2 separate regions of the Homo sapiens genome follow, and region 2 is linked to region 1. The links are contacts of gene promoters, found by promoter capture Hi-C in blood cells and fetal thymus (Javierre and others, 2016). All regions are on one chromosome and are shown on one strand. The core of a region is centred on a gene start or on the middle of the fragment in contact, and the rest is flanking DNA. Distances in the headings are between cores, read along the strand shown. Region 1 overlaps NRIP1 (nuclear receptor interacting protein 1). Region 2 holds the start of LIPI (lipase I).

Region 1 (5,953 bases), core at 2,117-4,616:
GTTTCACCAACATCAGGAACGTGGCCAGTGTGTGGTCCATGAAAAGGTCTACACATAGGTTTCTTCTCTCTTGCTCTCTTTTCTAGGGGTGTAGACCAACGTGCACTTGGTTCATGGCACATTATCACCACTGGTCCACACAGTGCCCCCTCATCTTATTTGTTACCTTTCTCAAGAGAATAGAGGAATGGGGTCCATAAACTTTGAGATATGTTTCCAGTTGAACCAACAGACCCAACCACCTACATTAATGGTGTTGGAATACTACTCATCAGTAAAAAGTAGAGCTGGCCTGTGAGTGTTCTGGTCAACTAAAGGTATCTGGCTCTCTTTGTCTGCAAATAAATAGCAAGTCTCCCTACTTCTTTTTAAATAAAATTCCAAATGTACGTAACATGTAAAACAATGCCACTGCATGAACATGTACATAACTGTACTATTCTTTTTTTAAATTCTCAGCCTGGAAATTACATTTCAAGTACTAGAATATTCAACAAATCCTAAGACTTTTATGAAGACCATGAGAAGAAAATAAGGTACTAGAACAAAAGTGATGCAGCCAGCCAATTCTCGTTTCATGTCTCAAGACCCAGTTCTTATTATTATAGATCCCTTTGTGGGGTTAGCTTGGATTTTACTGCGGGATCCATCACCAAAGGTTATTAACTATTCCTTAACACCTGGTACACAAACCCCTCTTTCTGAGACTGCTTTGACAAAAATAAACAAAAAAGTGTGAAATAAATCAAGATTTGACTGACCATCCTAGGTCTACCCAACTGCTAGCTGAATGACTTTCAAAACGTCTTTAAATTCTTAAGGACTCAATTTCTTCCTCCGTAAAATGCAGATAGTAACTGTTTTGGGCATTTTAACTTAACAGCAATAACAAAAACTACAGGAAGATAAGTAATTATTGACCCCATTGTATCACATGGATCCCCTGGCAATTAAAAAAAAAGATGAATGAGATATTAAGAAATAAAAAGGAAAACAGAGTAAAGACAAAACAGAAATAAAGAAGGAAACCCAAAAGGAAAGAAAATGGCACATAAGCACTAAATGGTAGCATTTTATCATTATTTTATTTATAGTCTACACTAACTGTGTGCTCTTCCATACAAAAGATGCATCTAAAAACTAACTTGTTTGATAAATGGGGGGAGGACAAGGTGCCTCTAAGATAGGTGTGCTTAAATCCAGAGCAGCCGTAGCTTTTATCAAATTCTCTTCCAACCTGAAAAATCTAACGATTCTATGAAATAACTTCAATTTGTGAAAGCCCAAGCAAAAGAAATTCAAAGTTAAAAAAAAAAAAAAAAGAAAATGTGACTTTGACTCAGGTCAGTCAAGTATTACCAGGATAGATAAAAGTAGATTTTTAGCAATACAGTTAACAATGGGTCTTGCCACAATAATAGCAAACATCCAGATATTGGAAAGGAATCAGATGGTAAATTTAAAAAAGACTGTTTTCAATCCTTATATTTGGCTTCACATAGATTCAGTGTATTTTAATTCATTTTTTTTTAAAAAGCATGGATCAGTTAAGGAAATAATATAAGTTCATTCTGATCTTTAGGAAGACATTCTTCCCCCCATATTGTTCACTTTGACAATTTCTCTTTTTTCTTATTTGGCCAAAATATAACGTATTCTCTAAACAAAACACAGATGTTTCCTTTGCAGCTTTTATACAAATCTCTTGCTTTTCCAACATGATTTGGCAACTCAAAATCCAAAGCACCCTAGAAAATATTATGTTTACACGTCTTATTATTCATCTTTGTGTCTCCAATATAGTTTCAATTTGACTATACCTTTCAGTGTATAGGGAACCACTCAGCTTGAATCTTTTAGGTTCAAAAATTCCATAAATTTTAAATGAGGCAAGTAAAAGGAGGTGGAGAAGCTCATAACTCCATTTCTTATGGCTTTAACAATAAAAGAACGTACCTGGTATGTACTTAAAAATGTACTATGTGCCACAAAGCTCCCCCACTCAACAATCTCCCTCCTGACACAGTCTACCCTCAAAATAAAGTCAACTACTCCTCATCTCTCTGCTTCCACTTCCTTCCAATTCACAAATACATTGTTAATTTCCTCTTTGCATTTCAGAGAGCAGTTTATCAGCACAGGATAGTCTTTAACAAAATTGTTGTGAGTGAAGATAGGGTAATTAAAAAAAAAATCATGTTAAGAACTGTTAATAGTCAAGAGTTGTAACTTTTCAACCAGGAAGAGCTATGGTTCTGAATTTGCTACAACTGCTCCTTGAAGTGGACAAACATAACTAGCCTTGGGAACACTCAGTTTAAGACCATGACAAGCTATTTCAATGAATTATATAAAGAAACATAGTTGCTTTCACTGCCTCAAATAACACCGCAGTAATTCTGTGATACACTTCAGAAGAGTTAGCACTGGAGGGAAAAGAGCCTGTGCGGCAGCCCTTGGTGACTACATTTCCCTCCAGCGCAATGCAGGTAGCAGGACATCAGCGCTTTGAGAACTAGCATAAGCTGCTGCAGAATCATCGACTGGCAACAATGTGCCTTCCCAGAGAGCCTGGTCTTGGAGAATCCAGGCTATGAGGCTTGCAAATGCTGCATGAGTTTTATGGCTACCAGGTTGGGAGCAAGGTTTTTTAACGGCTTCCTGAATGTCAGATGGCAACTGGTTTTTTCTTCAAACAATGGCATATTCTTTAAGAAAATCAAATTATCAATGAAATTTGCCATGTGACCACAGGCAAGTTAACTATTCTTGCATTTTTCAGACTAGGTTTCCTTATCTCTAAACTAGAGAAAATGATACCTACATGTCACAGGGGAACTGGAAGGATTAAAAGACAAAATGTGTGTAAAGCTTCCAGCACAATGTCTGGCACAAAACGGTTGCCCCAAAAAGTTCAATACTCTTCCTTTCCCTGCTCCCCCTCCCAACAAAACAGGAAAAGGCAACAGCCAAGTAACTAAACAACTTCTTAATATTCCAAGTTTCTACCCAATCATCTCTTCTTCTTTTAAAACCACAGGCTTGAAATCTTTACTGTTTACTGTCAACAACGGCATATACTGCTGTACAGTCAGAATTTTAGAATTTAGAAATCAAATATAACCCCCTTATTCAACAGATGCTGCCGGGGGAGATAAAAGGGCTTTCCTTTTATCTGTATCATCTTGATTTAGTAGCAGAACCTAAACTCGAAAAATAAACGTGGAATAACAGGAATACTATTTTTTAACATGTTTTTCAAAAATCAAACCTGAGCCTACATAACCCATTGTGCAAACAGTCCCTTTAGGAGAAAAACTGCAACTGTGATTAATTTCTCTCAAGAATATTTATTTCCCATTTGGAGAGTTTCACATGTTTCCAAACATATTTTCTTGATGTCCTCCATGTCATTGTGTATTCTCTCCTTCCCTTAATTTGTTTCTTTTCCAGTGTATAAATCTATTGCTCTATTATAGATTATTATAATATAAACTCATAAATTCAGGAATTTAAAAAAAATCTTTAAAAGCATGCTTCTCAGAAATCATTACACTCTGTTAAACACTTGCTATCTCTCAACTTCTAGATAGATTCCTCAAGAGAGAAGTCCTTTTTTCATTCTGAACTTCTAATTCTCAAATTTTGATTGTGTCCTGTTAGTTACCAAACACACCATTATACTACTACTCTCATTTCAATATTGTACATAAACGATTCCCCATCTTACTAATGAAATGCTTTTTTAAAGCAGTAACATATTTAACATGTGCACATGTTATGAAGAGTATAGGCAAACTCAACTATTAAAAACATGTAACTATAAGGAAAGCCATCTTAGACACTATATGTGACTACAGCTAAGCTTTTCTCTTAAGTATCTAAAGCAAATCACCAGACTTTTACATAGTACCCTCACATAGCTAGATAAGAAAGTAAAAGTAAAATAATGAAAGCAGACTCTAAACAGCAGAAGCTCCAAACTCCTTAGTTTCTCTGTTGTGCTCAATCCTTTAGCAAATTACAGGCCTGAAAACAAGGAGTAGCTCTATCACTTAACAAGTGACTAAGGAATGACTTTGTTAATTAGAAGTCCAAGGGTGAGAGGCTCCTTTCCACCAAAGCTCTGAATAAACATCAACATCAGGTCAACCAGAGTTGTCTTGGTCCCAGGAGTAGCTTAAGCGGATGACTCAAATTCCCAGCAGAATTCTAGTTTAATATTTATTGGAACTCCGAGCTTAGTCACACAGTGACTTGGAATTTAAGACACATGGGGTCTCTTCTTTCCATCCTTAAAGATATTTTTGCTAAGTGACACAAAGTTAAAGAGGCAAGATGGGTTTTAATTTAGAGTTTTTATTCCCTGAGGTGTAAGAAATTAAAATTTTATTTTCTGGGGAGAGTGAACCATACTAGCTCTGAATTTCAAACACAACTATTAACCCTGTCAGATAATTCTATTATCAAGTTTTACAAAACTGTTTACTATTATTATTTTTTTTTGCTACCCCAGCCCTATGTATTGAAAGTGGAAAGAAGGAAGGGAGGGAAGGAGGGAAGGAGAGAGGGAGAATGGATGAATGGATGTATGTCACAATCACCTTTCTAGCCAAAACTGCAACATATGCTGGAGTTCTTGAAATTATTTCAACCAAAAAAAGAATCACAGGACTCATAATTTGTTTAGCAGGTAATTATTTGCCCCATTATCTTCAAGAACAATCTATCTTAAAACTGTGTATAGCTTTTTAAGAAATCTTAATACTAAGAGGATCCTTTTTTTCATAACCCCAAAGAGTGTTTTCTTCCTCTATTTTTGAATTGCCAGCCTTCTCAATTCTTTAAATCTGATTCACATTATACTACTTTTAGAGTTCTAGGCTAAATGTTTATCCATAGCATGATTCAAGGTATTAATTTCAACAAAATACTAATATAATGATAAAATGTATCACATTTATTTTCAACTCTTTCCTATTCTTCTGATTTAAGAACTTAAAGAAAAATATTTTATGTTTCGGGTGCATTTTGATAAGCTAAAATACCACAACTTTTGTAATTCTTCATTTGTAATATTTGCAAGATAGTGTAGGGATCAATTTGAATTTCAAGGTTCATGATATAGAGTATGTACCATAACAGTGAGAAAAGTTAGTATAAATTCCTACTCATCTCAGTTTCTATATTTATTGCAACAAATTAAAACTGCATTTCATAACTCGTAGTAAAACAAAAGGAAAGTTCTGTTTTAAATAAACTCCAACCTTCAGAATCCTATACATTCAGTATCCATCAACCTGAACACTAAATTTCAAGAAAAAACAACAGATGGGCATCCATATAATAGTTTGCAAAGAAACCCTGATAAGACTTCAGGAGTTTCTGTGGTCTCTATTTTCCCCCTACCATGAATCATAGGTAATGTGCTTAAATAAAGCATTATTTCTGCAGTTATTTACATGTTTATCTTTATCAGAGATCCTATAAAAGAATTATCCAGTTCACCACCCAAACTTTAGCACTCAGAACACGGTTTTCCCTGTTGATGAAGACCCTTGTAAAATTCCAGATCTTAAAAGATTAAAGAAAATGTGATCTAATATTAATTCATTTTCCTCCAAAGTATAACTCCTGATTCCATGCTGGTACCCAATTTTGATCCTCTACTTTAAAGATATCTCAGAGACATTCAAAACAAAGTGTGAACATGCACAAAAGGGGAACTTGTCGTTTCTCTCCCTCAAACAACCACTATTTATATAATATTGCTGGCCTCCTAAAAGAGAATAGAATCCATTACCATCAGCAATTCATGTCTCTGCTTCAGCATCAGATGCAAACAGGATACAGAAACTAGATCTCTCTCCTCCATTTACTTTTTGTTCATTCCAACCTCTCGACATAATCTTCAGTTCCATTCCAATGGCCTGTTTCACCATCTGACACTCCT
Region 2 (5,953 bases), core at 1,173-3,672, 850 kb before region 1:
TGGTTGGGAAAAAATCAAAATTATAATATTTGGTGACATGAAAGTTACAACAAATTCAAATGTGAGTGTCCATAAATAAAGTTGTATTCGTGCACGTGCACATGCACATTTACTTGTTTATGCATTATCTACTGCTGCTTTCTTGCTTTGGTAACAAAGCTGAGTAGGTGCAAAAGAGACTGTATGGCCCACAAAACGTAAAATATTTACTATCTGGTCGTTTACAAAAATATTTCCTGGCTGGCTCAGTGGCTCATGCCTGTAATCCCAGCACTTTGGGAGGCTGAGAAGGGCAGATCACTTGAGCCCAAGAGTTGGAGACCAGCCTGGGTAACATAGTGAAACGCTGTCTCTCCAAAAATTACAAAATTAGCCAGGCGTGGTGGTGTGTGCCTGCAGCCCCAGCTACCCTGCAAGCTGAAGCCAGAGGATTTCTTGAACCTAGGAGGTCGAGGCTGTAGTGAGCCATGAACTTCACACTGTACTCCAGCCTGGGTGACAGAATGAGACCCTGTCCAAAGAAAAAAAGAATTTCTGACCCTTGCAATATAATAACAGCAACAACAAAAATTTCAGTGTAAATGGTTACAATAAGTTGGTAACTGTACTAAGAATAAATATGCATATATGCATATAATTTGAATATACAGATACATAGATGTACTGTATATCTGTATAAAGTTTTTTGATCTATCTCTCCTCTCCCATTTTATTCTACTTACAATTTTTAAAAACACCTGACTAAACTGCTTTTCGGAATGTCGTTTCTTTATTAAAGGCAGATTTAATCAATGATTTTCATGTTGACAACCATGAAACATGCCCTCCTTGAGGTATATATCAGAATCTCTAGTGGAGAAGAAAGGAGCATGTGTAATAAATAAAACACACTTGTATGAAATAAACTACTGGAAATCAACAAAATTTTTTAATCAAGTAGAGATTCAAGGAAAATGAGAGAATGCATAGAGTCTACATGGGTTAAAAATGAATTTGAGGATCAGTAAAATTTGTAATTCACTTATTTTCTATTTACTACTGTTAATATCTAAAAGTTCTACTATTGTATTTTAATCATCATTACACAAGAATTAGCAGACAGAAACATACAAAGCAATTATGTTTGAATTTTCCCAACTGAAAATTTAGGCAACTGACTAAATAAATACTAATCAAAACAATAATATCAGAAAGTCTGTCAAATAAGTTTTTAATGTAAACTATGATATTAAAATGATTATAACTGTATTAAAAATGACACATAAGATTAGGGGCCTAGACTTCAAATTTCTCTGGCTTTCAACTGAAGGTGCCACTATTTTACATTATAATAACATAAAATCCCTATCAAGAAACTTAAGAGTAATAATATAAATTATAAACTACATATCAGTATCATTTAGTTTCTATATTTAAATATAAAATTCAAACATTTCCAGAATTTATGGTTATCTCAAATAGCCAATTGAAAACATAAGAAATAATGGTAATTTCTAGTTAATTTTAAAGTTATTCAAGTATGCATTAACAAATTTCAAATAAATTTAAAACATAAAGGAAATAATCTGCTCTCATAAAACCCCTACAGAAAACTATCATCTTGAATTTTAAATTTGCCACTGTTATTACCATAAAGTAGAACTAATTGTTCTACTTATAAGTCGAACAAGTAATTCTACTTTCTCATAAAGTAGAAAACGATACTCTTAATATTGATAAACTTTATTACTGTACGCCAATAAACCAGAATAAAGTTCTACCTTATTACCATAAACCAGCTTTGTTTTTCGTCATACTGAATGAGAGCAAAAGTTGTAGTATCTGGTTATTTTGTTTGTTTTGCAATCGATAATTTATCCAAGTAAGAATTTTCTTCAAAAGTAGAGCTAGTTAAACAAATAAAATTGAAACAAGATATTTAAGGCATAATTTTAAATACCAAATTAATTTCTCCATTACTGAATTTTTTTCTCTTGAGTATTTCTATTTATTCTCTAGTTACATCTTTTTTTAAAAAAAGGTTTTCTAGTTACTAATTATCTGGCAAGGAAATAAAATGCAAAATGTCAACTTATTAAACAAACACATGCACACACACACGTACACACACAGAAGTTTTCTTAATAGTAATGTTTGTTATAATTAGTACCAATAATCTAACATATTTTTATCCCATTATATCATAACATTCTTTATCCCAGAATACAGACCACACTATTTTATATGCAATTTTTAAAGATAAATCAAATTATTAATTAATATCTTACCAGATCTCACCCAGCACATCAAACAAAGAAAAATGTATACTCTCATTTGGAATCTGAGAAAAGCAAAAACAGCACTCAATTCACCAAAAAGGAAATTCCGTAACTCATTGAGGTTTCTCTTTGGTAGGATCATCACAGGCTGGCAGGTTCTTCTGTAAAAGTTCACTGATTTTTGCTCCTCCCTCTTGGTTGAAAAGGTGAGGTAGTTTGTTTTCTCCCACTTTAGCTTGTGGTTGTGGGAAGGATTTTTAAGTCACAGGCTCTGTAATAAGTCACAAACAAACCTTCAGCTACACAAGTTGAATTTAAGGGAATGATAAATCTAATTACATCTTTCTGTATTCCTTTTAACCTCAGGATTTCAGAAGCGGTCAGGAAAATATGCAAATGTGATGTTAGAAAATGCTAGAAATGGAAAGAGTCAGAAAAAGTTGTGGTTTATATTCACTTTGACTACAAACTAAGATATCTTTATATACCATAAATCAATAATGAAAGCCATATCCATTAAGCTCTTTCAAGTATAAAAGATGAGCTTTTCATATTTATGTTATTTTACATCCCCAAAGCAGGGGCTATTTTAACATTCAAAATTTTGGCTCATCACTTGAGGCTAAAAGGTGAAAATTATAAAAAAAAAAGTATTTAATATGATGACCATTTTAAAATTAGCATACATTTTCTTTTTACATGTTTACTTAATTATCTTCTTTTCTTAGCAATGGACTTTAGTAAGCAAGAAAAATTGGGAGTTGTTCTAAGTACATAAATTGAAAGTTTAAAAATTAATTCATTTTTAAAAAATTCAAGTTTCTCTAAAGTTCCAAAAATACAGTAAGAACAGAAGTGTTTTTTGTATGTTATAAATCTGCAGAAACTAATCTGAGGTCTGGGGAAGTATTTGAGAAAATTCACAAACAAAATGAAGTATTAGTTTAAAAAAATCACAAACATTTAACTGCTGAGGAAGTTCCATCATTATTTTGAACTGTCTGATCTCTGGGTGTTTTACATGAGATTTCCATTTTTTAAAAAATACCACCACTACAATTTGTTTGAAGACCAAAAATAATCTAGGTCCTTCCACAGCACTTAGCTGTAAGAACTGCACCTCTCTAACAAAGATATAAATAAGCCACATCATTTCAGAATATGGGAAGAAAGATAATGTGTCATACATCCTAGAACAAATTTTTCCTAACAAATTTTACTTAATAAATTAAAATACAAATCTTTCCTCCTTCACTTATAATTTCCTTTTCTCTTTGTGCTTTCAATGTGGCATTATAATATGACTCTTGCACATTTACTTTCATCTTTATGAGTTCATACTGAAAAATACTGGCATATCAGGCAGTATAATATAGAGTTTCAAAATTAAAAATCATGCTTCTTCATTATCATGTATTTTGCCTACTGCCAATATGAGAAAGATGAGGTTATTAATGTTCATTGCATTAAATAGGAAAATATTGGGGGATGACAAAGTTACAAAATGCCAATAGTTTAGTAAGACAATCTATTTGAGCACTTGTTTAGTCCTCCTTGGATATAAAAAATGATTGTAAGTAGCTTACATACACACTTACAATGTAAACATTAACTCAAAGGGGATGTTCATGATGATGATGTGATGATGATGATGAAGATTTAAAATTTATTGAGCCCTATGTATCAGGCGTTCTTCAAGCACTTTACAAGTGAGTTAATTAGTGTTTGAGATGGAAAATCATTGTTTATCACAATATATTTTGTCACAACCTTTTATTAATTTGTCAATGTGTCAAAATGTTTAACAATCTTACCCTTTGACTCAGCAATTAAGCAACAAAGATACTTCCTACAGAAATCCAAGACACTTTCCTACAGACACATCCAAGGTCCTTTTATGTGGCAAATGGCCTACATGTGCACAAATATATGAGCAAAGACATTCATCTCACCATTCCAATAACAGTCAAAAAATGAAAGCAATATAAAATCTAACAATGAGAGATTAGTCTAATTAGGTATCTACTGTGGATTAAAACTAATGATACAGATTGATCAGTATTTATTGGTGTAAAAGGCCTTCATTACACCTTTTTCATTACAAAAAGTTTTAGAGGGCAGAGGGCAAGCTAAAAAACAGTATTATATAGCATGCTTTATTTTCCTAAAGTGTGATATATATAAATATATATATATATTTTCCTAAAGTGTGATATATATATATTTCAAAGTCTGGAAGGTTTTCCTCCAAAATAGTTATCTCTGCATGATAAATTTGTCAGTAATTTTTACTTTATTTCCTTAAATTTTAACAATATTTATTTATAATAAACATCTAATACACATAAAACAATTGAAAAACTGTATTTACTTGACAAAAATATGGTTCAGAAAAAATCAGAATAAAGACAAAATAAGTGTTTAAAAAAGTGAAGACAAAAATGAGTTCAATTTAAAAAAGCATCCAATAAAATCCCTTAATAGTAGTTGGCCAACCTCCTTTCCTTCCTTCCTTCCTTCCTTCCTTCCTTCCTTCCTTCCTTCCTTCTGTTTCAGTTGTTCATTCACTTATGCAACTTTTATTAAGTACCTATTGATTTCCAGGCACAGACTTTGTTGTTGGGGATACAAAGTAAAGACATTAATTTATTTAATCTGTATTCTTTCAATAGCTATTTATTATACACCTACAGGTGTGTCAAAGATTGTCTTAGGTACTGAAATATATTTACTCTATACTAGTTCCCAGTGAGAAGGACTTGACAGAAGTGTACCTAGGGAACTATGGAAGCACACAAGTGGAGTGGCCAGCTAATTTGGAAGGCAGAGTTCAGAGAAGCATTGCAGGACATGTTGCCTGGGCTTAACTACAAAAGAGAGTAAGAGTTGGCTGCACAGGGCCGGGCACAGTGGCTCACGCCTATAATCCCAGTACTTTGAGAGGCCAAGGCGGGTAGATCACCTGAGGTCAGGAGTTTGAGACCATCCTGGCCAACATGGTGAAACCCTGTCTCTACTAAAAGTACAAAAATTAGCCGGGCATGGTGGCACACACCTGTAATTCCAGCTACTCAGAGGCTGAGGCAGGAGAATTGCTTGAATCTGGGAGGCGGAGGTTGCAGTGAGCCGAGATTGGGCCATTGCACTCCAGCCTGGGCGACAAGAACAAAACTCCATCTCAAAAAAAAAAAAGTTGGCTGGGCAAAAGAAGATAAAGAAATGAGCTCTAATTATACATATATAGACATACAGAGGTATACATGTATATATACATATATTTTCATTTATTATATGTTCATTCAGCTAGGGACATCAGACATCCTGATATAAATGAAGAAAGGCTAGCTCTTTATAGAGTGTTACATGTATTTAACCCATTAAAACCTGATATATGACTAATGGTACAGTAAATACTGAAAGTGAAGTGAATTATTTTTAACCTACTACTAGATTTATTACCATGCATGCATTCAATATGAGTTAAGAAACAGAACATGCTTACATTAGAAAAATGATATATTGAGATCATATTCTGAAAAAATTGCTAACTACAGAAGCTGACTTTCAGAGTTTATAATATTAACTAAGTATTCTAGAATTATAAGCACTATAAACTTATGTACGGCCAGAAGAGGATATTATAACACCAAAATTATGCACATTTGTAGACAAAGAAGGATGCAAATTTCAATAGA

The links. Contacts are between HindIII fragments. The CHiCAGO score rates a contact against its expected background, and 5 or more counts as called.
Region 2: a contact is called between the fragment with the promoter of LIPI here and a fragment that was not itself captured in region 1, in 2 of 17 cell types (total CD4 T cells and naive CD8 T cells). The highest score is 5.9, in total CD4 T cells.

The regions. Positions count from the first base shown.
Region 1 is chr21:15,054,986-15,060,938 of GRCh38, forward strand. All of the region lies in intron 1 of NRIP1 (nuclear receptor interacting protein 1), which reads right to left. Among named protein-coding and RNA genes, the nearest start is that of NRIP1, 7.0 kb to the right of the region's middle. RefSeq lists enhancers at 2,213-2,262, 2,483-2,532, 3,908-3,957. The HindIII fragment of the contact is 994 bases long and covers 2,870-3,863 here.
Region 2 is chr21:14,208,533-14,214,485 of GRCh38, forward strand. It overlaps LIPI (lipase I), which reads right to left and starts at 2,423. Exons shown (of 10, transcript NM_001302998.2): 1 at 2,268-2,423. The coding sequence starts at 2,313. The HindIII fragment of the contact is 13,443 bases long and covers 1-5,953 here.